3 separate regions of the Homo sapiens genome follow, and regions 1 and 2 are each linked to region 3. The links are contacts of gene promoters, found by promoter capture Hi-C in blood cells and fetal thymus (Javierre and others, 2016). All regions are on one chromosome and are shown on one strand. Each heading gives the region's core, a stretch centred on a gene start or on the middle of the fragment in contact. The rest is flanking DNA. Distances are from core to core; before and after follow the strand shown.

Region 1 (4,222 bases), core at 880-3,379, 260 kb after region 3:
TGGAATTAAAATGGGATAAGATAATATGAAAGTTCATGATAAGCCTCACAGTACTAAACATACCGAGGTAGCAGCATACTATGTTGATTCATCTTATTGTCATCAGCCACAGGCTGAGCCTTGGCCATGTGCTTGCTCTGGGAACTCGACAGTGGGAATCAGGGAGCTTGGGTTCCTGTTCTAGGGGTGCTGTCAACTAGCTGTGTGGACCTGGAGCCCCAGTTTTCTCCCTGGGTCTCAGGTTCCTCAGCAGAACAGGTATGGGACTAGTTGATGTCCAAGGCCTTTCTAGCACTAATATTCAATGCAGAGCCGTATAATCTGGGGTACTTCTCTTAGAAACTTCTAAAAATACAGAACTTTCTCTCTCACTACGAAATCTGACTGCAGTAGGACTGAATCAACTGCGTTGGCAAGGCTTTCCTCCAGCCCCGTAAGCTTCTGACTTCTTTGGGAACCCATATTGCCTCCAGTTTCTGGTGTCTGCTGCCACCTGCTGGTTAACTTCTATAAGAACAGCTAAAACCTAGGGAAATAGAACTGCTTTGCCTCACGTGCTTATAGAGTGATTAGGTCACACTGAGTCACCGATAGGCATCTACCACTGATGGGGACTCAGAGTACTTACACCAGGGATGAGACACATGTGTGCTGTGGGCTGTTGTGGAGGAAATAACTGCAGTCTATCAGTCTTGATATCTACCTCTGCTTTGAAAATTGCAAAGCTGTTGGCCAGCGTTCTAATCTGTTTTCTTCTGGGGTGTGTTTACTCTTCCAGCTCTCTGAGTCCTCCTCATCCTGTTCTTCTATCCATTCCATGGACACAAATTCCTCAGGGATGTCTTCCTTAATCAACCCCCTCTCCTCCCCTCCGTCCTGCAACAACAACCCCAAAATCCACAAGCGCTCTGTCTCGGTGACGTCCATTACCTCGACTGTGCTGCCTCCTGTTTACAACCAACAGAATGAAGACACCTGCATAATCCGCATCAGTGTGGAAGACAATAACGGCAACATGTACAAGAGCATCATGGTGAGGAGCAAGCCCTGACCCAGGAGCGGGTTTCCATTTAGATTGTGTGTCTGTGTCTGTCGGCCGCTCAGACTAATAGCCCTAAATATGCACACTCAATATTAGCATATACATATATGCATTCACACAGAAGGGATGTGTGTCAGTTCCAGGTCTCCCTGGGCATAGATGCTGAATGATATATGTATATAAAATATATATACATATATATGCACACACATGGTGTATATAGGATATAATTTTCACATCTTAAAGAAATGCTAAAACTTATTCGTTTAGGTCAGTATTAGCCATTTGAAAATTCTCAATTTGGGTGACAGTGTAAATGTGCTCCAGGGAGGATGACACAACCTCACACATTTTTGGAAGCCTTCCTATGGAATTATATGTCTGGTTTTATCATTGAATTTCCACACATTCTTAGCAGTGTACTCCCCTGATGGCAGATTTTTGTCATTTAGTCATTTGGATCAAACCTAGTTAATAAAGTGGATGATCAAGCTAGAAATACAGTTTGGGTTAATGAGGAACGATGCCTATAAAATGAGACTGACCTTTTTGAGCTTCTTGTAAAATCTGTGTGTTTCTGAGGACAATTGCAAAGATATTTTTAATAATGGCAGTCTTTTGGGAATACACACAGAGCCTCTCATGGCGATAACCTTGGGTATGTGAGGTCTGGTAGGTTTATCACAAGAATATAAACTCCTTAGTTTATGGGAGATAATCATGTATTGGAAATCACTTTATCCTTTGCAGCAAAATCCCACAGCTAATTCCACATCTCTCCTCATCTTTATCACTCGCCTCTTTGAAGGCACACTCAGTGCTTACAAGCTCAGGTCTGAATATGGCATAAGTGGTATGGAGGCTCCACATAAAAGCTTTGCTAAAGCATTTATTGAGTCAACAAAATATCAAACATTTATTGCGTTCTAGTCATTAGATCAGGCTTTGGGGATAGGGAGATGAGTGAGACATTTCTGCCTTTGAGGAACTTTTAATTAGAAAGGGAGCCCACAAAGCATTATTCACAATGTGCAAAATAATAGAGCCAAGATCAGGTGGTAAAGGGCCTTGTGGCCCACACAGAGGAGTGTGTTAATCCCGCAGGCAATAGGGTCTTGTTGAAGGCTTTTAAGTAGTGATGGGATTTGCTCATTAAGAAAGTCATGGCACTGTGTTTGCTGGAGTGTCGGGGTAGACTGGAGGCGGGGAAGCAAGTTAGGAAGCTGCTATCATGTTCCATGTAGGAGAGGATAAGGGCTTGAATGACGGTCATGTGGCTGGAGATGGTGAGGATTTTTGAAAGCTTTTGATGAGGTAGAATTGTAGAATCCATTCATTTAGTTACCAACTTTTTGGTTACTGTTGTGGAGGACTAGAGGCTGTCTGGGTAGTTGGTGGGTCTGTGAGATATGAACTACCAGAGGAGGATATTCAGGGACATTTAAATCAGAGGTACCAGTATGACATCAGATGGCATTGTCTGATAGATGGTCAGAAACATGGGCTGGTGCAAGGCTGGTGCTGAGATCAAATACTGGGAGTTGTCAAACCCCACAGGGGGGACGTGGTCTCGCGAGACTGAGTGTAGGATGAGGCAGAATGCAAGTGGTAATGAGGGAGGGGCTAATAAAGGAGCACCCGAGAGGTAGAGGAAACACAGGGAAGCCAAGGTCCTCCATGTGGTTACTGCCTGCTCAGCATGGTCTGTTCACCTGGCACCTCTTACCTGCACCAATCAGAGAGAATGTCCACTGCATAACTCTACAGTGTCTCTGAATTATAGCATGGATTTGTACACCAAACAGTTATGTTTTGGGACATGCCTGGTCAGCGTGCACTCTGCTCAGTCTGGGGGGAACTGTGAGTGGTTGGACTGCACAAACCTCTACTGCCCAGGAGGAGTCACAGGTTGTGCATGCTGTCTGAGTGTTGGGAGGGTAGTGAGCAGAAGATCCCCTGCCCCCTGCTCTGAGATTCCTCCTTCCCCAGCAAATGGGCTGCCTCTGTGAGAATCACCTCTCCTGCCAACCCCTTCCTGTGGCCCTTTATATTGCACCAGGTGGTGGCACTCACCTTTCATGAAAATCCTGCCAGCGCATGTCACAGGCTTATTCTGGAGAGACGACACACTGCTCTCGTGCTCTCATTCTAATCGTTAGGCCTCTCAGGAGAAACCTTGCTCACAGGACGTACCTTTCTGAAATGTATTATGCTGTGTGCTGTTGACCAGAAGATGGAAATAAATCAGTCCAGGTTCAGGCGAGACTAGCAGTTCTCAAACTTTTTGTTCTCAGGACCCCTTTATACTCTGAAACAGCATTGAATATTCCAAAGAGCTCCAGACTATGTGGGTTGTATCTGTTGATATTTACCACATTAGATATTTAAACTGAGAAACTTTCAAAATGTTGATTAATTCATTTAAAATAACAATAATGAACACATTGCATGTTAATGTAAATTTTATTTTTTAATGAAAAATATCTATTTTTTTCCAAAAATTATTGAGTGAGAAGTGTGGCATTGTTTTCCATTTCTGAAAGTCTGTTAAAATGTGAGTGAGACTGGCTTTGTTTTGTTTTGTTTTTGTTTTTACTGTGAGTACAGGGTACTGAAGAATACAGTGACAGCTAGTAGATTTGTAGTTAGAAACCACTGGACCGATTTGTGCTGTTGTGCCAGCAATTCCATCCACCATAGCTTCTGCAATACCTATGCAAATGTCAACACAAAGAAAAGACAAACAGCATCTTAGTATTATCATGAAAATAATTTTGATCTCATGGATCCCCTCACAGATTTCAGGGACCCCACGGGCCATAGATTGCACACTGAGAACTGGTGGCCTAGAGAACTTGCTTTGCAAGAGCAACTAATGTCCCTGGAATCCAAGGCCCTTCCATAGAAGAAGAGACAGCAATTAGCCCTTGTAAAATTACCTCCTCAGTGACCATGGAAAAATGTCTTCTACCACTGAACCCATCACTCTTTCGAAATGATCTTTCTCTCCATTGTGTCAATCACAGAGTCAGTCTCCCAAGATCCCTTACACAGGGAATGCAGTATTTCTGTCACAGGAAAGTCAATGAGGGCGACACCAAAGCATCGTTCAGTACCGCGCATTCAGTACAGCAGCCACTGGCCACGGGTGGCGATGGAGCATTTGAAATGGGAATACTC
Region 2 (4,520 bases), core at 1,464-3,963, 280 kb after region 3:
CTGGGGGTCTGTTCCAAACTTCTCATTTCCTTTTGGGAGAAGAAACTGTCGCTGATTAATTTCCAAGCATCTAAGAACAGAGAGAGAGAGAGAGCTGCCCACTCCACTTTGAAAATCAAATTCCCCCACTAGTAAGAGCCCAGACATCCACCCAGCCACCCGTGGAATAGGAAACCCCCATCAAAGCCTTGCCAGGTCCATGGGGGCAGAGCTAGTGCTCTGTGGGCCCTAGGATTGCTCAGACATGGTAAGTTTACTAAAGCACCTGTTCCAGAGAAGCCAGGCTGGAGAATTACAGGGACGGGCATAAAAACAAACTCCATAAATTAAAAATAAAGAGAAGGCAATCCTCAGAGACGATTCTTCATTCTTTCCACTCTTTTTGAGGGCAGATGGGAGGATGGATGGCTTTGGATTGGAAGCAACACAGCTGGTGTCACAGAGGCTACTGAACAAAGATCAGCTCACATATTAGCACATCCATGGGTGGAAGCAAAATACTAGGGCATTTCAGTAATTCACAGAGCAGAAAGGAAGCCACTCTTCTGCCCAGCAACAAAGTTTAATGGAGCCATTCCACCACTTACCTTGGAACCCCATTCAGTGTCTGACAATTCTGTCAATGAATTCTTCCTGAAAGCTCACCTAAACTCCTCTTGCTCTGTCCCTGGGATAAGAGGGAGCACCATTTTTCACGTAATCTTTTGTAATATAATGTACTAAAATCTACCATCATTACTTCTCTCTTCTCCAAGCAGGTACAAAAGGACATTGTCCACACTTTGGTTCTTGTCTCAGCTGCCCTACACTGACTTAGGGCCGCGGGCTCACAGGGAAGCCCCTCATATGCCCCTCCTCTCCTGCTGGCCTTCCTCCCTCAGCTGCATTTAATTGAAGGACAGCCGGTTCCCCTGAAATAATAAACATCACCACAAAACATCATGTGGGCGTGACATTTCCAAAGCTGTCTACTCTTAGTTTTCAGAACGTGTCACCCCTTACATGCTATTTTCTTCTCATATAGCCAGCCTCATTTTAACTTTACTTTGTCATTATTTAACTCCTTAGTGAATTAACTTCTGTCAGGGAGATCACTTCTGGATCATTTCTTTCCTCTGTTTAGTTGGCAAGAATGTCTCAAAAGCACGTTATAGAAAGCCTCCTGGGAAGACACATCTTTATTTTATAGTTACTAGCGGGAGGGATTTGCTCCAATCATAAGGGAAAAACCATAAGATTCCCAAATTTGTAGCTGAGTGGGAATATTTCTTGTTTTGGACATCAACATTTTACTGGAAGCCTCTGTATTATCTGTCAAGATGGTAACCAAACTTAGAATTCTCCCAGAAATGCTGGGCTCTGTGCTTATGATGAGACAGCCCTGAGAAGGAGACAGCCCTGAGAGGGAGGCAGCCAACTTGCCTTGCCAGCATGATTGTGTCTCAGTCTTGTTTGTTATCAACCCCAACACATGCCTAACTCTTCTGCCCTACTGAGTTCCCATGAATCCCACTTTGGCCCTTTCATAGTCCTGTCAGGCAATGCCTGGACAGCATCTCCACCCACTGTGCCCAGCCCTCCTCCCTCTTCTGAACTCCAATTCATCCTCCAAAACCCAACCCAAATGTCACCTTCTCAGCAGAGCTGCCCTGACAGTCCTCCTCTGCCCATTTTGTTCATCTCTGAAATAAAACCATCCTGTTTGGCAGCCACCTGCTTTATGTTGCTCCTCCATTGGACTGCGGGCCCCACACAGCAGTAGGGACCTTACCTACTTCTCTGAGCATCTCAGTGCCCAGCACAAAGCCTGCAGCAAGGCAGTGTTCACAGCCTGGTTTTTGAGATTAGGGGTAAGCTTGATCTAAAAATTCAAGCAGTCACTGAGATCAACAAGGATTTTCTTTTTGTTGCTGCTGTTATTTTTCCCCAGGAAAAAGCTCTTTGGCCTTGGACTGGTATCACAGTATCTCAGTATCTTTTGATGAACGGATAGGCTGACCTGTAGCACAAAATGCAAGATGGACACCTCCACTCCCTCCCAGTGGGGGCTCTCTTCCATCTTTCTGTACCTTGGAATCCTTTTCAGCTTACATAACAGTACCCATCAGTTTAAAACAACCCTCACTGCACAGTAAGGGCAGCAACCACCCTCCCCTCATTTGCCATGGGGATCACACAGCAGTGATGGTTCCCCCTGACTCTGACATCCTTGGTCAAGGGCAGACCTGGTAATCTCTGCAGCGTTGGCCATTGATCAGTGCCTGCGGAAGCAATTGACAATCATATCTTTGAGCTAAGTTTTTTTTTAATTTTTCACAAAGAGCTCCAGAAGGCAAATAGTTTATCACTTCCCCACTCTGAAATAGCACGCAAGACAGATGATGCAGGGGAACGGGTGTCCACTCTTTCTTGTTCTCAGAGCTCCTGCAGCAGGCCTGAATGAACCGCAAGCGGGGCCCATGCAGCGTGTCCTCTGCAAAGTGCAGGTGTTCAGTCCACACACAGCAGCACCAGCACTGCTGATGTCACGGTTGTCTGTCCAGAAGATCCCACGTTAGATCCCAAGAGAAATCCAGACAGGGTTTAGCCTCCAGAGGCAGAGAGCGGGTGCCAGGCCCAGATGCAAAGGCCTCTATACTGACGCCCTCACATGACACTGCAAAGGTCAAATGTCAAAGGTCAAATGTCTTGGCTTAGGACTATAAGGGAGAGATAGGACAAATAATGAGGTCAAGGAACCTCTGGATTGCTGAAGAGATGACTTTAAAAAAAAAGTCACATCTGCGGCTCACAGTGTTCACCAGAAAAGAACACTGCTTGGGATTCTAGACCTGAGCAGGGAGAAACAAACCGGGCTAAAGGAGACAGAACTTTCTTCACAGTAGAACAGTCCTAGTCTAAAATGCTAGAATTTAAGTCCAAAGTCTTTTAAGAATGAGAGTTCTTAAATCTGTCAGACCAGCTGACAGGGGAACAGGAAAAAAAAAATTCTCTATTAAACAAAACACCACAAAAATCAACCCAAACTTCCTTCAACCCCAGCACCCCAGCCACCTCCCACCCCATTAAAAAAGTCATTAAAGTCATGCACACATGCACACACTCAAATATGAAAACAAAAACCAGATACCCAAGGAAATCTTAGGAATCACCTAAGGAATTTTCACTCGCTCCCCAGATGCTCTTTCTGTTTTTCTGGGGGTGGGTGGGAAAGGAAGTCACACTGACAGCTAAGTCTAAGCGGCACAATTTAGAGTTGGGTGAGTTCCCTTTCCTCCAGCGGCCTAGCTTGCTGGTCAGTGTAGAAGGGTACCCACAGTGAGTCGGGAAGGAAGGCCGAGGCTGGCGTCTGGTGGAAGGCAAGCTGCCTCTTGTCCTAAAGTGGGGACCCGCCCCTCACCTGGGGAGATGAGGCTGCCTTGACTACCTATTTGGTGATGAGACAGCTTGGTGATCACTTTCTCTAGACTCTGAGCCATGCTGTTCAACCTTAATGTGGCAATCAGTATCACATGGGCAGTGAACTGAAGAATTAGGTGTCTGGCTTAAAGTGTATCTTACACTCGTACACTAAGCTTGTGTATGTAGCACCACCCGCCTGTGGACTCTGCTCTGAAGGGCCCTCCCCATGAGTTTAAGTGTGAAGCTCAGGGTTTGGGGTGTGCACGGCCCCCCATATGGCTGCATGGTGCATGGACAGTGATGAGGAACGGTGCTGGTATGGGATGCCTGGGAGGGTTTTTCTGGAGACAAAAATTTACAGATTGAGGGCATGAGAACATAAACTTGAGGGAAACCACCATGATCTATACTAGGATGACAGATTGTGGAGTGGGAAGAAATCGTGTAGTCCAACTCTGCATTTTACATAAAATCAATCTGTGAAGAAAGCAGAAAGGACTCTTAGGGGATATCTTTTGAGAAAGGGTGTCCGCCTGGGATTCTAAGAGCTTCCCTGGTTGCTGGCCTAAATCAGGTGACCAGCCCTTTGTTTCTGACCAGGTTTCTCACCTGAGATAGAGAATCATTTGTTTCCAAATAGTTCAAATCCCCCCATCCACAGGCCTCCCCACAAGAGCCTGGCTGGGAAATTCAGGAGAATCAGATTGCCGAACCAATGTGTCCACACCCACCACTCCCCCGGGTGCCGTGGAAGTCTGCAACATCTGTTTCTCTGCCTTATCCTAAAGACAATATCTTCGCCCATTTTGTAAAATAAATAATTCAAAATATAATGAAAAAACTCTGGCAAGGATAGTTGCTGGCCTGAAAATGTGCTCTGTCTCTTAGCAGTGACTCACAGAACTCACACCTGCGGTGGGTTCCCAGGCTAAGGGGTGGAGCGGAGAGCGTGAAGCTCTGTAGCAGCGCGCAAACCCGGGACAGGGCAGGATGCACAGCCAGTCCTCACCCTTTATATATTACATTTATCTTTATAAATAGAGCATCCTGACTCGAGTGGCCATAATAAAAAAGCCAAACATTGAGTTTTTTCCCTCAAATACCTACACAAACTGTCA
Region 3 (4,625 bases), core at 844-3,343:
TTTATGGTTTCATTTTTTACATTTAACTTTGTCAGATAACAAAACTGATAAGGCAGAAAATTTAAATGAGGTAAACTGACCATTGCAACAGAATATATTTTTCACTTTTCAAAATCTCACTTATCATATCACAAGTATGAATACTTGTGCTAATAAATAAATTATGGCCTCTCATATGGAAGTGCTATGTTCACCTTCTGTCTTCCTCAGCCCACATCAGCTCATTCATTGCTGTATTTGATACAGCTTGATCTCTAGCCTGAAACCTGCAGAGTTCCTATGCTAATCCTATCCTGGGCAGAAAATATGTTAAAAGCCTCAATCCAGCTGTAGGTGGAATGTAGCTTTATTCATGTCACCATTATCTTAGTGGCTAATATCCTGCAGTAACTCTGGCACCACATACCCACCAGATTCTAGATTTCTCCTAGCCTCTGCTGTGTCATCTTAATCCATAGGATTGGACATTAGCTTTGTTTTTTCCTTAGTACTATATTTTCCTGATGTAACTGAATTCCTGCCTTGAGGCTTCCTAGACCTTGTCATAGCTTTCCTTCTAGAGAGCTGGATTTAACCCTTGGCAGTGGACGATCTCTTGGAACCTGACGCCATTTCCTGCTTACTCCCGAGCATTGTTTCCTCTCTGGACCTCCTCCTTGCTTAGCCTTCATCAGGCTGGATGGATCTCTCCATCAGAACTTGCCAAAACCAAGCCCAAACTTTCATGCTTTTTAATATTGTGCCCTTGATGTGGTCGACTTATGGGTGGTACACCGGACATCCAGGTTACTGCTCAGATTACAATTTCAACTCACCCATAGACAATTTACAGATTGATTTGGCTAAATGTTATGGAAACAGAACCAAAAGGCACTTTTCTGTCTTTATTACTATTTCTTAAGGTGATGTGTATGTGGAGTTAACTATATATAATGGTCCCATAATTACCCTTTTGGGAAACAAAAGTCTTTGTGTGTTTTTAGATAAAGGTAGCAAAATGGAAACTCCCTATTGCTTTTCTAAGCACGCCTTCCTTTGCACCCCCATCTTCTGTGGCTGTTTTAGCCAGAAATGATACATCATTACTGTCTTTAAGGAGATGGAGAGGACTGTGGCTTTAACACATAGTGGAGGGAGCTCTGTAGTCTCATTCTTGCTGACAACTTTTCAGTGTCAACCAACTATAGTTTCCTATTGGTGAAGTTTTCACTTTTTCAGAGTCTTTCTGGGCTTGTTCTTTGATCACCCTCATCTGAAGAGGAAGCAGGAAAGAACTGTTGCCCTCTTTGAACTCTTAGAGAATTCATGGTTTATTGTATCAATTTGTTATCGACCACAGATTATCTTGTTAACTTTTGGTATCTGTCATTTTATTCTCCCCAACCAGGTGGAAATGTACCCTGTTTAGGCCCAGGACCTACCTTAGCAACCTTGATTGGCTCACAAGCCAGGTTGCTTAAGACTTGTTTCCCCAGCAGCTGGTGTCCCTACTTCCTGCCTAGCCCTTTTCCTTTTGCTTTGTCTGTGCTTGGGAAATACATGTTATACTCTGTAGAGCAGATTTGCTGGCAGTAAGAACAGAGATGTGTAGAGCCCAGCGTGCTGGAGGGCTCTCTGCATCTGGCTGTGAGTGGCCCCTGGACTGGGACCGTGGGAGGACAGCTTTCCATAGTTTAACATAAATGAACCACACCATAAGGACAATCTGCTCTCATTTCACTCAACTAGGATTTAGTGAGTACTGTTAAAGCACAGTTTGCACTGGAGTAATTGGAGAATGGAGTTTGCCCTTCACAATCTGTGCACAATCTGTTAGCAGCTAAAAACAAATGTTAGCAGTTATAATTACCATCAATTTGTCTCCAGGCTTGGATCACATTCCAGGTGTTAGAAGAGATGGTCCATTTCCTTTTTTTTCTCCTTTAAGTCCCATGCCCTGTTTCAAGTAGCTTCAGAAGGCAATTGTGCTGTAAAGATTCACCTTGTAATGGGTTCAGGACTCTTTCACAGTTTGTGTCTATTCGTTCATTTGAACTTTGCTGTTCCAAGTTAGAAAGCCCTTGCTGAGGTGTGGCTACCTCTAAGAACACTGTTGATTGGGTGCCATGGTAACGTTTGCAAAGTAGCTACTGCTAGGATACAGCTCTGACACTTATTACTTTATTTGCATATCAAGCCACCTGTTCCAAAGATGAAAATATACAGGACTGCATATCCCAGTCTGGGTAAAAGGATAATAGCTGACTGTTGAAGAGAACATGTTGCAGTTTTTCTCCTGCTAGCTGAAGAATCAAGTTCTGAGGGCCTGCTCCTCAGCACCTTTCTCCTGGTCTAGAGTAGGTGCCAGGCCTGGCGGTTCTGTTGCCTGCGTGGGTGCCAGGGCTTCTCCTTGGGAGGCTTGCCCTCTGTGAGAGGGAGCAGAGAGTTGACTTCCTCCAAGAGGCCCATAGTCCCTGAAGGGGGTGTTTTTGATTCTGTCTAAACCTAGGCTATGTGTTAGCGGTTTCCCTCCTCTTAGAAATTGCCTGGAAGACTCTTGCTATTGGTATGTATGTGGTTCCCTCCAGTTTAAGACAAGATTTGTTCCAGGATCGGTTGTAGCCCCTTCTCTGTGGCTAACGGAAGAGCCACTTGTCCTTCTCCATTCTTTTCCTTAGTCTCCCTTGACCCCCACATCATCTCCTAGACACAAGGCACATTGATAGTCACAATTCACTGTCAATCACTCTGGATTATTCCCTCATTCCCCTTTCCCAGGCCACCTGAAGGAGTGAGTGGGGATTGCTATTGTGTACATTCCAGTAATAACTATTGGCTGTAAGCAGACATACTCTAAAAATAACTCAGGGATACTGAGCACCCAGAGGGCACCTTCTGTCTTCTCGAAGCTTCGCCACGCCTGTTTCCACTGTCAGACTTCCAGTCTGCACCACAGCACACATCCTTTCTCATCCAGAGTGCTCCTACTAGACGAGATGTTTTTGTCTCCTAAGGGCCTCAGGTGTATTCATGAACTCCTCAGCTGGTTATTTTCAGTTTCATCTTCCTTGGTGCTTGCTCTGGCACATGGTCACTGCTGCATCCTGTCCCTTCCCCACAGTTTGCCATGGGTCATCCCTTTTTTCTCATTGCTTGCATCTTCTAACTGAATGAACTTGTAAATATGGAACTGAAAGTCAATCCTCATAGCTCATCTTTTATTTAATCCTAATAAATGACAATCTATTGCAAACATTACTTTAAAAATATTACTTATCAAAAGCTGGGTGAAAGGATAATAGCTGACTGTTGAAGAGAACATGTTGGGGTTTTTCTCCCGCTAGCTGAAGAATCAAGTTCTGAGGGCCTGCTCAGTTCTGTAAGAAAGTATTAGCTGTCTGACAGGTTCCAGTGAGGGGAGGAAAAGACAAAAAATATAGTCCCCAAATCTGCACCAGCATCCCATGTGCACTGTGCACCTTCCATGGTGGATTAGATGCTCAGCAAATGATATACCTATGGAAGGTTAAGCCTAAAGAAACAGGAAAAATGAGCCTTTGTCCACTAGCACATTTATCAATTGCATTTTAGGGTGATTTTAGGGATAGGCAACCCCAATTAGTCATTATTCTTTAAAGGTAGTTGTCTGTTAGATGTAGGAAGACTCCAAGGAATGTTAAGTTGGCAACATTCCATTTAGGTTGCACAGAATGACTTTTAAGACTAAACTTCATCAGGAGGAAATGAAAGGCCTTTACCATGGTTCCTGTTCACAGTGAAATTGACATGTATTGGAAAGGAGATGCTTGGAAGAAATGTCTAGCTTCCCCAACAGACTCCTTTCTTCTCTTTTCTGTCTTCCTTTGTTAATCTGCCATGTTTCATCTTCATTCAGATGAGTTATGATGTATATTATTTATGTAGAGATATTATGAGATTATAATGAAGAAGATTTACAAAGACTAAACTATCCTGCAATGATCTAAATTTTTAAGAGACATTTACTCAGTTTGGCACTCCAAAAATTATTAATCTATGTTCTGACAACCCAGTTTGGGGTATATCCAAGATGGCTTGTGTGTTGCTAGTTACTGCTTATAAGGCAACTTTCTCTTTGGGTGGCAGGAAGTAAAATATTTATAAGTTATTGCTAAAATGTTAAAGTTTTATTTGAACCTACTGTACCCAAGTAATTATATAATTCATCACTTTAGTAGCAGTTTGGTTGACACTGAACAACAATGCTCAAATTCATGTAGCAGTAACAAACTACGTGATAAAAGGAACTGAATTTAGAAAGCAAGCTTCAAGTAAAGATCAGAAGATTAAGTAGATTTCATGGAGCTCACTAAGGAGTTAGATGGGAAAGATGAGATAAGAAAAGCACTGGAGTTGAGACCAAAAGGAGACGAAAAAGCAGAGGGTGGATCTTCGAGCTCGGGGGGTTATAAACAAGATGGCCACAAGGTGGCAGCACAGTCTTAACAGCAGAGAGCTTTCTGTAGGGCCACCCTTAATTTGCTAACACCACAGACTTTCTCTTAGAATTCCTCCATGTTGATTTTCCTCATTATCCTAGGGGAAACAGCAGCAAATGTTTAGAATTAAAAATGACTCCTAAAACTTAAGCTGAGGAAAAGTATAGG

What was found. The method cuts DNA at HindIII sites, captures the fragments that hold promoters and counts their contacts. A CHiCAGO score of 5 or more calls a contact.
Region 1: a contact is called between a fragment that was not itself captured here and the fragment with the promoter of APOBEC4 in region 3, in 16 of 17 cell types (megakaryocytes, naive B cells, naive CD8 T cells and 13 more). The highest score is 38.5, in megakaryocytes.
Region 2: a fragment that was not itself captured here is called in contact with the fragment with the promoter of APOBEC4 in region 3 in 16 of 17 cell types (naive B cells, naive CD4 T cells, M2 macrophages and 13 more); the score reaches 12.5 in naive B cells.

The regions. Positions count from the first base shown.
Region 1 is chr1:183,915,669-183,919,890 of GRCh38, forward strand. RGL1 (ral guanine nucleotide dissociation stimulator like 1) reads left to right here. Exons shown (of 18, transcript NM_001297671.3): 16 at 779-1,033. Among named protein-coding and RNA genes, the nearest start is that of RGL1, 110 kb to the left of the region's middle. RefSeq lists an enhancer at 377-566 and a silencer at 3,118-3,307. The HindIII fragment of the contact is 428 bases long and covers 1,916-2,343 here.
Region 2 is chr1:183,933,547-183,938,066 of GRCh38, forward strand. It overlaps COLGALT2 (collagen beta(1-O)galactosyltransferase 2), which reads right to left. Exons shown (of 12, transcript NM_015101.4): 12 at 2,288-4,520. Among named protein-coding and RNA genes, the nearest start is that of COLGALT2, 100 kb to the right of the region's middle. The HindIII fragment of the contact is 1,720 bases long and covers 1,854-3,573 here.
Region 3 is chr1:183,651,223-183,655,847 of GRCh38, forward strand. It overlaps APOBEC4 (apolipoprotein B mRNA editing enzyme catalytic polypeptide like 4), which reads right to left and starts at 2,094. Exons shown (of 2, transcript NM_203454.3): 1 at 1,850-2,094. It also overlaps a transcript of RGL1 not described here. The HindIII fragment of the contact is 5,397 bases long and covers 1-2,886 here.